2 separate regions of the Homo sapiens genome follow, and region 1 is linked to region 2. Evidence: promoter capture Hi-C in 16 types of primary human blood cells and fetal thymus (Javierre and others, 2016). All regions are on one chromosome and are shown on one strand. Each heading gives the region's core, a stretch centred on a gene start or on the middle of the fragment in contact. The rest is flanking DNA. Distances are from core to core; before and after follow the strand shown. Region 1 overlaps ZKSCAN1 (zinc finger with KRAB and SCAN domains 1). Region 2 holds the start of ZNF394 (zinc finger protein 394).

Region 1 (5,082 bases), core at 1,812-4,311, 520 kb before region 2:
GATGCAGGAAGAAAGCCAGAACATTTTTAAGACAGAGTAACCACCTAATAACCTAAAGCCTGCCAATACTTCTCCTGGCTCCAGTTTCAACGTCTGTGCCCTGCTCACACATAATAGGTTTCACCTCTTTTTACCTGTTGTCCTGATAAATCAAGCTCCAAGTCTTCTAGAAGGGTCACGGCCTCCTCTCCACTATCGGGGCGGTATTCCTGCAGCCAGACCTGGAGCTCCTTGGGCAGGATGGAAAGAAACTGCTCTAGCACCAGAAGCTCCAGGATCTGTTCCTTGGTGTTTATTTCTGGCCGCAGCCACTGATGACAAAGTTCCTTCAGCCGACTGAGAGCCTCTCGGGGCCCAAAAGTGTTCTGGTAACAGAAGCGCCTGAAGCGTTGGCGGAATATCTCTGGGTCTGGAGGAGGCGTGTCCTGTAGGGTGGAATCCTGCCCCCACATGTGGTCTTCCTCATCTTCCTCTTCCACCTTCACTATTACGATACCATCCTTCTCCTGTGCAGCCTGTGGGGACAGACCCGTGGCTTCCCGTGATTCAGCAGTCATCATTCAGGCTCCAGGAACTGACTTGATCCAAACAGGGTCTGTGCTCACCTTTATGTCCTGGGAGGTTTTATGATGTGTTTCTTTACTATTCCTGAAGTATAAAAAAAAAGTCATTAGTACGTACCTTTACAAAAAGTGATCTGTGCTGCTAACACTTTATAGGAGGCAGCACATCGAGGCACTATCAGAACGCTCCTGAGGCCGGGGGTGGTGGCTCACGCCTGTAATCTCAGCACTTTGGGAGGCCGAGGCAGGCCAATCGCCTGCGGTCAGGAGTTCAAGACCAGCCTGGCCAACATGGTGAAACCCCGTCTCTACTAAAAATACAAAAGTCAGCAGGGCATGGTGGCAGGCGCCTGTAATCCCAGCTACTCGGAAAGCTGAGGCAGGAGAAACGCTTGAACCCAGGAGGTGGAGGTTGTAGTGAGCCGAGATTACGCCACTGCACTTCCTACCTGGGAGACAAGAAGTTAAACTCCGTCAAAAAAAAAAAAATCCTGACAAATCGAGGAAAAAACTGTACAATCTCCACTGTCACTTCATATATCAAGATTTGCAAACAGAAACCTCAAACAGGCCGACTCCACCCTCAGGGTGTTTGCTTGGAGTCAGAGTGATTTACCTGCAGGTTGACAGCAGGTTACGAAATGGAGCATTAACAGTGCCCAGCCCAGAGAGCTGAATGTTAGCAGAGTGCCAGGTGCCAGGCTTAAAGCAGTACACGCACCATCTTCTTTTGTCCCTACAACAGCCCTAGCAGGTCGGCCAAACTGTTAAGTGCTGTTTTACAAATGACATAACTGAGGGTTAGGTTTGCTCAGTAGTAGGTGGCTGCCTACTGGAGTCAATATTCAACCAAATTTGAAGCCCTGGGACCTACTTTTGTACCATCCAGCTACTTTTGCTATTTTTATGAGTGACTTGGGCAGTTAAATTGTGGTTTCCAAAGTACAAGATGATCCGCAAAGGATACAGAAAGAAAATAATTGGAATGTCTGTATCTTAAAAGAGAGAGAAATTAAGCTATAAATTGACACTAATACACTTACTTAGTCTGTGCTGACCTGTCACAGGTGTTGTTCATTTTAGACATTGTGATGTAGACTGGTTTATCTGAGACCAGTTATGTGAAATAATGGATTTCTAAATCTAGCTTTGGCTGGGCGCAGTGGCTCATGCCTATAATCCCAAAACTTTGGGAGGCCAAGGCGTGCGGATCACGAGGTCAGGAGATCGGGACCATCCTGGTCAACATGGTGAAACCCTGTCTCTACTAAAAATAGAAAAATTAGCTGGGCGCGGTGGCGGGCACCTGTAGTCCCAGCTACTTGGGAGGCTGAGGAAGGAGAATCACTTGAACCCAGGAGGCGGAGGTTGCAGTGAGCCGAGATCGCGCCACTGCACTCCATCCTGGCCACAGAGCGAGACTCTGTCATAAAAGAGACAAGCAGCTTTAAAGATTCTTGTGGCCAGATATGGTAGCTCATGCCTATAATTCCAGCCCTTTGGGAGGATGAGGCAGGAGGATGCTTGAAGCCAGAAGTTTGAGACCAGCCTGGGCAACATAGCAAGACCCTGTCCCTATGAAAAAGAAAAAAATTAGCTGGGCATGGGGACTGTGTCTGCAGTCACAGCTACTCAGGAGGCTAAGGTGGGAGGATTGCATGAAACCAGAAGTTTGAGGCTGCAGTCAGCTACGATCACGCCACTGCATTCCAGCCTGGGTGACAGAGCAAAGCCCTATCAGGAAAAGGAAAAAAAAAAAAAAAAAGATTCTTATAGAGAAACTGCAATTACAGGACACACTAATAATATAAACAGATGTGAACAAGAAGAAAATGGCACAGATGAAGCTTCTATCTAGAGTAAGGTTTTAGCCACATTAGGAGGTAAAAACCAATGTCAGTCTAAATCAAAGAAAAAGTCACCAATGAGTAATCAGCTTCTTTAAAGAAAGTGTGAAGAAAGGGCAATTACAGGAACAGCTGTATGAAATGGTTCCATTGTTATGTAATTTAACTGCCAAAAATGATGTCAAGTATCCAGGAAAAACCCATCTATGTTCACATTTTAGAAACTTGGGGCTGGGTGAGGTGGCTCATGCCTGTAATACCAGCACTTTGGGAGGCTGAGGCAGGGAGCAGGGGGCCACCTGCGGTCAGGAGTTCAAGACCAGCTTGGCCATCATCGTGAAACCCCGTCTCTACTAAAAATACAAAAAATTAGCTGGGCATGGTAGCAGGCGCCTGTAATCCCAGCTATTTGGGAGACTGAGGCAGGAGAATCGCTTGAACCCAGGAGGCTGAGGTTGCAGTGAACTGAGATCACGCCATTGCACTCCAGCCTGGGTAACAAAGTGAGACTCCATCTCAAAAAAAAAAAAAAAAAAAAAAGGAAAAAAAAAAGAAACTTGGAAATATTTTCTAACCTGTTTAAAAATCTTTCAAATGAAGAATTTCAGGTGGGTCTTAAGCCTATTTGTTAAAAATATAAAATGCCACCACCTGATTAGTTTGTAAGACTATACCCTGCATTTCAACAACAAAAATTCAGCATGGTTGATAGGTTGGATCAATCACAAGTTACTAAGCAGAACTGACACTGTGATTCTTCCATCTGAAGCTACAAATCTTTCTGAATTTATTCTTTTCACCTCTACAGCCATCAAAACTAAGCATCAAATTGAAGTTTTAGAAACAGACCATTAAACTGCTTTATCATGATGGGTTAAACCGAGTTTTAAACTAGCAAAAGCATTTTTAGTTTTATGGCTCTCACTAAACATATTCTTAATTTTGGTGAAAAAGGGATCATGTACATATAACAGCACAAAAATTATATATACATATATATTGAAACGGAGTCTTGCTCTATCGCCCAGGCTGGAGTGCAATGGCATGATCTCAGCTCACTGCAACATCCGCCTCTCGGGTTCAAGTAATTCTCCTGCCTCAGCCTCCTGAGTAGCTGGGATTACAGGCCATACTTATTTTTTTTAATCTAGTTCCATGAAGTCCAGCTTCCTTTCTTTGGTTCCCTGCCTTCATTTTCTCCCTTCTCTCCCACAATCCACCTTTCAGATTATTCTTTCTAAAACTCTACAGCCTTGCAGTTAATACTTTCCAGTGCCTGGTCCCAATTTTCCCTCAAGCTTCTTTTCCCATCAATCCCCCCATAAACCTTCCCTATGCAACAAAAGCCCTCTCATCAGTATTTCCTATATATGCCTTGTATTTTGACTGCCATCCTTTCCTCACATCACACTCCATGCCTGGGACTTCCCCCCGCAGTCCTCTCTGCCTTTTCAAATCCTACTTAACCTTTAAAGCTAGCTAAAACGCGACTTGCCTCTTATCACTGTTCAAGAACCCTCTCATAACTATAACAGTAAGAGCCAATGTTTACTGAGTGCTTTCTAGGTACCGGGTATTTAAGCATTTTCACTTGACCACATAACAATCTTAGCAGGTAGCTACACTTATCATCTCACTGTATAAAGAACTGAGAGGCTGAGCGCAGCGGCTCATGCCTGTCATCCCAGCACTTTGGGAGGCCAAGGCAGATAGATAACCTGAGGTCAGGAGTTCGAGACCAGCCTGGATAACATGGCAAAACCCCATCTCTACTAAAAATACAAAAATTAGCCAGGTGTGGTGGTGCAATGCCTGTAGTCCCAGCTACTCGGGAGGCTGAGGCAGGAGAGTTGCTTCAACCTGGGAGGCGGAGGCTGCAGTGAGCTGAGATTACACCACTGCACTCCAGTCTGGGCAACAGAGTGAGACTCCATCTCAAAAAAAAACAAAAGAAGAACTGAGATATACTGCCATTAAATAACTTACTCAAGGTCACACAGCAAGTATATGGTAGAGGCAGAATTTGAAATAAAAGTGATTCCCCAATGTAAACTCTTTAACCATTATACAAAATTTATCTTGTACCTGACATGTGGGGTATACAGATCCTAAAATGAAGGCCTATGAACGTGACAATGAAGAATCAATCAGGGCCAGGCACGGTAGCTCACGCCTGTAATCCCAGCACTTTGGGATGCCAAGGAGGGTCGATCACCTGAGCTGAGGAGCTCGGGACCAGCCTGGCCAACATGACGAAACCCCGTCTCTACTAAAAATACAAAAATTAGCTGGATGTGTGGCACATACCTGTAATCTCAGCTACTCGGGAGGCTGAGGCAGGAGAATCACTTGAACCTGGGAGGTGGAGGGTGCAGTGAGCTGAGAACGCGCCACTGCACTCCAGCCTGGGTGACAGAGAGAGACTCCTTCTCAAAGAGAAAAAAAAATCACTCAGGAACGGGCCTTATCTACCACCCAGTTTTCACTGGAGGGTCACTATGTGACTGAAGCCCTTCCTGGGAAAGGGAGGAGACACAGCAGAAGATTCAAGTGGGGACTGTCTACAACATAACCAGGTGGGATCTTCAAACATGGTAACTGAGCAGAACTAGTGTGATAGCGAGCCCAGCCACCAGAAATCCCTACTTTTGTGAAAGTTTTATCCTGCCTTA
Region 2 (5,626 bases), core at 2,372-4,871:
TCTCGGCTCACTGTAACCTCTGCTCCCAGGTTCGGGCAATTCTCCTGCCTCAGCCTTTCGAGTAGCTGGGATTACAGGCACACTCACCACGCCCGGCTTATTTTGTATTTTTAGTAGAGACGGGGTTTCCCCATGTTGGCCAGGCTGGTCTCGAACTCCTGACCTCAGGTGATGCGCCCGCATCGACCTCCCAGTGCTCTCCTTTTCATATGGTGCTTTATAGTTTCCAGGCCCCAGCCCTCCCCTCCCCCTACGCCCCGCGCAGTTTACAAAGTTGATGGGCAGGCAGGAGAAGAGTTACTGTTGCCACTGTTTTACAGGCGCGAAGGAAGGAACTGCTGTGAAATTGCAGCATCTGCAAAAAGATGAGAAGATATTTAGAAGTTAAAGGTCTCTTTTCAGGGAGCCCAAAATCTTGCATTTTAAGTAGCTTCCTATCTAGGACCAAACCCCCGGTGAATGTTTGCAATGCCCGTATTTTGTGTGTTAGTGAGTTGGTATAGAATTTTGCACCTATGGCTTAATTTTGTTGCTCGTATAAAGTTGTTTAATGTCTATGAAAGTTGTTCCAGATGGGCATGGTGGCTCACGCCTGTAATCCCAACATTTTGGGAGGCCGAGGTGAGAGGATCACTAGAATCCAGGAGTTGAAGACCAGCCTGGCCTTTTTACCCCGTCTCTACAAAAAATAAAATAAAATTAGCTAGGCATGGTGGCACATGCCTATAGTCTCAGCTACTCAGCAGGCTGAGACTGGAGGATCACTTGAATTCAAGAGGTTGAGGCTGCAGTGAGTTATGATTGTGCCATTGCACTTCAGCACCTCAGTGACAGAGACACCCCGTCTCAAAAAAAAAAATGTTTGGTGGATACCCATTCTTTTCTAATATATTTACCTCCATTTAAATGATTTATTTATTTGTTTGTTTATCTATTTATTTTTTTGAGACGGAATCTCACTCTGTCGCCCAGGCTGGAGTGCCGTGGCATGATCTCGGCTCACTGCAACCTCCGCCTCCCGGGTTCAAGCGATTCTCCTGCCTCAGCCTCCTGAGTAGCTGGGATTACAGGTGTGTGCCACCACACCTGGATAACTTTTTGTATTTTTAGTAGAGATGGGGTTTCACCGTGTTACCCAGGATGGTCTCCATCTCCTGACCTCGTGATCTGCCTGCTTCGGCCTCCCAAAGTGCTGGGATTACAGGCGTGAGCCACCGCAACCGGTTTGAATTATTTATAAACACCTTTTGCATTTCAATAATTTATTTCTTAAATAGATAACACATTTGCATGAGTCAAAATTCAATAAGGCACTTAAGGTCTTCCTCTCATTCTCATTCTACATTCATTTTTCTCTCTAGAGATAGCCAAGATGACTAGTTTCCTTTTTTTTTTTTTTTTTTTTTTTTTTTGAGATGGTTTTGCTGGTTGCCTAGGCTGGAGTGAATGGCACGATCTTGGCTTAGTGAACCTCTGCCTCCTGGGTTCAAGTGATTCTCCTGCCTCAGCCTCCCGAGTAGCTGCGATTACAGGCATGCGCCACCATGCCCGGCTAATTTTGTATTTTTTAGTAGAGACGAAGTTTCTCCATGTTGGTCAGGCTGGTCTTGAACTCCCGACCTCAGGTGATCCCCTCGCCTCGGCCTCCCAAAGTGCTGGGATTACAGGCGTGAGCCACCGCACCTGGCTCCATAAGAGATATTTTTATGTCTAGTTATTAAACACACCTGGATTGATAAATAGTGTTCGGTTTGTTTGGGCGTGGGGTGGGGAGGGGGATTGCTTGAACCCAGGAGGCAGAGGTTGCAGTGAGCCGAGGTCAGGAAATCAAGACCATCCTGGCTAACATGGTGAAACCCCGTCTCTACTAAAAATACAAAAAATTAGCTGGGTGTGGTGGCACGCGCCTGTAATCCCAGCTACTTGGGAGGCTGAGATAGGAGAATCGCTTGAACCCGAGCGATACTCCCTCTCAAAAAAAAATTTTTTTATTTTTATATGGAGACACATCCTCTCTATGTTGCTCAGGCTGGCCTGGAACTCCTGGTCTCAAGCGATCGTCTCATTTTATGCAAGTTGCAAATCACCAGCAGCTTGACATCAACCAAGACACTTTGTTTTAGAGACAGAGTCTTGCTCTGTCACCCAGGCTGGAGTGCACTGGTGCGATCATATCTCACTGCAGTCTTTACCTCCTGGGCTCAAAGGATCCTCCCACCTCAGCCTCCCAAGTAAGTGGTGTATCCTGAGTTGGTTCCTTCCAGTGGGTTCATCCTCTCGCTGACTTCAAGAATGCAGCCTCCGACCTTCACTGTGTTACAGCTCTTAAAGATGGCACGGACCCAAAGAGTGAGTAGCAGCAAGATTTATTGTGAAGAGCGAAAGAACAAACCTTCCACAGCATGGCAGAGCACTCCAGCCGGTTGCCTCCGCTGACTGGGGTGGGAGCTTTTAGTCTCTTATTTGTCCCCTCCCATGTCCGTTTCTGTCGTATCAGAACGCCCTTTTTTCCATCCTCCCTGCGATTGGCTGCTTTTAGAATCCTGCTGATTGGTCCATTTTACAGAGCGCTGATTGGTGCATTTTACAAACCTCTTGCTAGCTACAGAGCGCTGATTGGTGCATTTTTACAAACCTCTTGTAAGACAGAAAAGTTGTCCAAGTCCCCACTGGACCCAGGAAGTCCAACTAGCTTCACCTCTCACTGGGACTACAGGTGTGCACCACCACACCCAGCTAATTTTTTATTTTTTGTAGACATTGGGGTCTCCAATTCTTGGCTTCAAGCGATCTTCCCCCCTCAGCCTCCCAAAATGCTGGGATTACAGGCATACGCCACTGAGCCAGGCCAGGACACATCTTTGAGCCTCAATTTCCTCATCTTTTTTGTTTGTTTGTTAGGATCAAAGTCGTTAACATCTGATGTACATGGAAGCACTTAGTTTTAAAAAAAAAACAAAACTTTTTCCAACTGGGCGCAGCGGCTCACGCCTGTAATCCAGCACTTTGGGAGGCCGGGGCAGGCGGATCACGAGGTCAGGAGTTCCAGACCAGCCTGACCAACATGGTGAAACCCCATCTCTACTAAAATACAGAAAGTAGCCGGGCATGGTGGCGCGCGCCTGTAGTCCAAGCTACTCAGGAGGCTAAGACAGCCTGGCGACAGAGCGAGAGTCCGCCTGAAAAAAGAAAAAAAAACAACTTTGTCCAACCTGGGCAATATAATGAAACCCCATCCCCACAGAAAAATTAATAAACCGGGCGTGGTCGCGCGCACCTGTAGTCCTAGATACTTGGGAGGCTGAAGCTGGAGAATTGCTTGAACCCGGGAGACAGAAGTTGCAGTGAGCCGAAATCGCGCCACTGCAGTCCAGCCTGGGCGACAGAGCCAGACCCTGTCTATTTAATCCTGAAGGTTCCCGCCCTTGCCGGAGCTCGGCCACCGGCTCGGACGCCCGTATTTCCTCGGGATGCGGGAAACCGTCAAGACCCTCTGCGTCGGGCGGGGCTAGGACGATAAACCAGCGAGATGCACCTCACCCCATCAGGCGCCTAGAGAGGCCCCGGAAATGCAGGGAAAGGTGCCGCAAGGCCTCGATGACGCGCTTCCGGCACGGGATGTTTTCGGTTGTTTGACCGAGAGAGTTGTAGGCGCAAAGCTGAGGAAAGGAGAGTGTGGAGAGGGGCCTGGTGTGGTGGGGCCCGGTGTTTGGGACCGGAGGGTGTTGACGGCTGATGAGTTCCTTGGGTTTGCTCTTTCTTCACCTGAAAAGAAGACTCCAGGAAGGGCAGCACATGCCGGAGAAAGATGAATTCCAGCTTGACCGCCCAGAGGCGCGGCAGTGACGCCGAGTTGGGACCCTGGGTGATGGCTGCGAGGTCCAAGGACGCGGCGCCGTCCCAACGCGACGGACTTTTGCCCGTGAAAGTGGAGGAAGACTCACCCGGAAGTTGGGAGCCCAACTATCCCGCGGCTTCGCCGGACCCCGAAACTTCTCGACTGCACTTTAGGCAGCTGCGTTACCAGGAGGTGGCTGGACCGGAAGAGGCGCTGAGCCGGCTCCGAGAACTCTGTCGTCGGTGGCTGAGACCCGAGCTGCTCTCCAAGGAGCAGATCCTGGAGCTGCTGGTGCTGGAGCAGTTCCTCACCATCCTGCCCGAGGAGCTTCAAGCCTGGGTGCGAGAGCACTGCCCAGAGAGCGGGGAGGAGGCGGTGGCCGTGGTGCGGGCTCTGCAGCGAGCGCTCGATGGAACCTCATCCCAGGTGAGAAGCGAAAGGCCTGTTCTGGAGGTGGGAGTGTGGAAAATAGGCGTTTAGGGGTGCTCTGCGTTTCGGAACTTACTTCCTTATTACATTTCGTGTGAACATTGGGGTGTGTATGGACTTCCTTTCTGTAGGCCACAGTGACAGATCCATCCAGGAAATGACTTGTTATAGACCTCAGCATAAAGCGAACACGGATTACTGGTTTTCTTTCTTTTTCTTTTCTTTTTTTTTTTTTTCTTGTTGTTCTTGCTGTTGTTTGAGATGGAGTTTCACTCTTGTTGCCCAGGCTGGAGTGCAATGGCGCGATCTCGGCTCGCTGCAACCTCTGACTCCCGGGTTCAAGCGATTCTCCTGCCTCAGTCTCCCGAGTAGCTGGGATTACAGGCGCCCGCCACCACGCCCGGCTAATTTTTGTATTTTTAGTAGAGACGGGGTTTCACTGTGTTGGCCAGGCTGGTCTCGAACTCCTGACCTCAGGTGATCCGCCCGCCTCGGCCTCCCAAAATGCTGGGATTACAGGCGTGAGCCACCGCGCCCGGCCTTGTTTACTTTTAATCTGTATCATATTTCCATTCCCATACATCACAGTGATATAAGTTAAAGAAATATTTTGCTCCTACCTACCTCCAAAATTAGTGTAAATAGTCCACAGAAAGGCTTTTCAGGATTACAAGAGAATGTCAGCCTCTATCTCTGATCTCTCCAAACTCCCTTGTCGGTACAAGACTCAAGAAGAGTGTTAGTGCTGTACAGGGACAGCAGGTACTGAATGGGGCTCTTGTGTTGTTCCAGGGGATGGTGACTTTCGAGGACACGGCTGTGTCTCTAACCTGGGAGGAGTGGGAGCGCCTGGACCCAGCACGGAGGGACTTCTGCAGAGAGAGTGCGCAGAAGGATTCCGGGAGCACAGTTCCGCCGAGTGAGTGCTGTTGCTCTGCTGGTTTATTGCGGTGTGTGGTTTGTGAAGGGCTGGTTCACTACCATCCCTGAGCCACTATGCCATTCCCAGACTTGGGCTGAGAGCCTTCAGGTGCCTTCTGTAACGCAAGCAGGAGCCTCTGTACTGCTAGGTGCTAGATTCAGCTTTTTACTTTGGTTCATTTTTAATGTTTTATACATACAGAAAACTATATAAAAAAAAGATAATGACCATCCCCTGTGTCTACCACCCAAGTTTATCAGATCTTAATACTTGGCCATATTGCCAAGGAAATAGTATGTTACAGCTGTAGGTGAGGCCCCCACATAGCCTCCCTGAAACCCTTCCCCTCTATCCTTCTCCAGAGGTAGCCAGTAAGCTGACTGTTGTGTTCATGACTTCCATGCATGTCTTATATTGTCTCTACATAGACACGTAGC

The links. Contacts are between HindIII fragments. The CHiCAGO score rates a contact against its expected background, and 5 or more counts as called.
Region 1: a fragment that was not itself captured here is called in contact with the fragment with the promoter of ZNF394 in region 2 in 1 of 17 cell types (erythroblasts); the score reaches 7.2 in erythroblasts.

The regions. Positions count from the first base shown.
Region 1 is chr7:100,018,985-100,024,066 of GRCh38, reverse strand. It overlaps ZKSCAN1 (zinc finger with KRAB and SCAN domains 1), which reads right to left. Exons shown (of 6, transcript NM_003439.4): 2 at 135-648. The coding sequence starts at 560. Among named protein-coding and RNA genes, the nearest start is that of ZKSCAN1, 5.9 kb to the right of the region's middle. The HindIII fragment of the contact is 1,298 bases long and covers 2,413-3,710 here.
Region 2 is chr7:99,498,276-99,503,901 of GRCh38, reverse strand. ZNF394 (zinc finger protein 394) reads left to right here and starts at 3,621. Exons shown (of 3, transcript NM_032164.4): 1 at 3,621-4,264; 2 at 5,060-5,186. The coding sequence starts at 3,809. RefSeq lists enhancers at 4,011-4,290, 4,513-5,181. The HindIII fragment of the contact is 23,896 bases long and covers 1-5,626 here.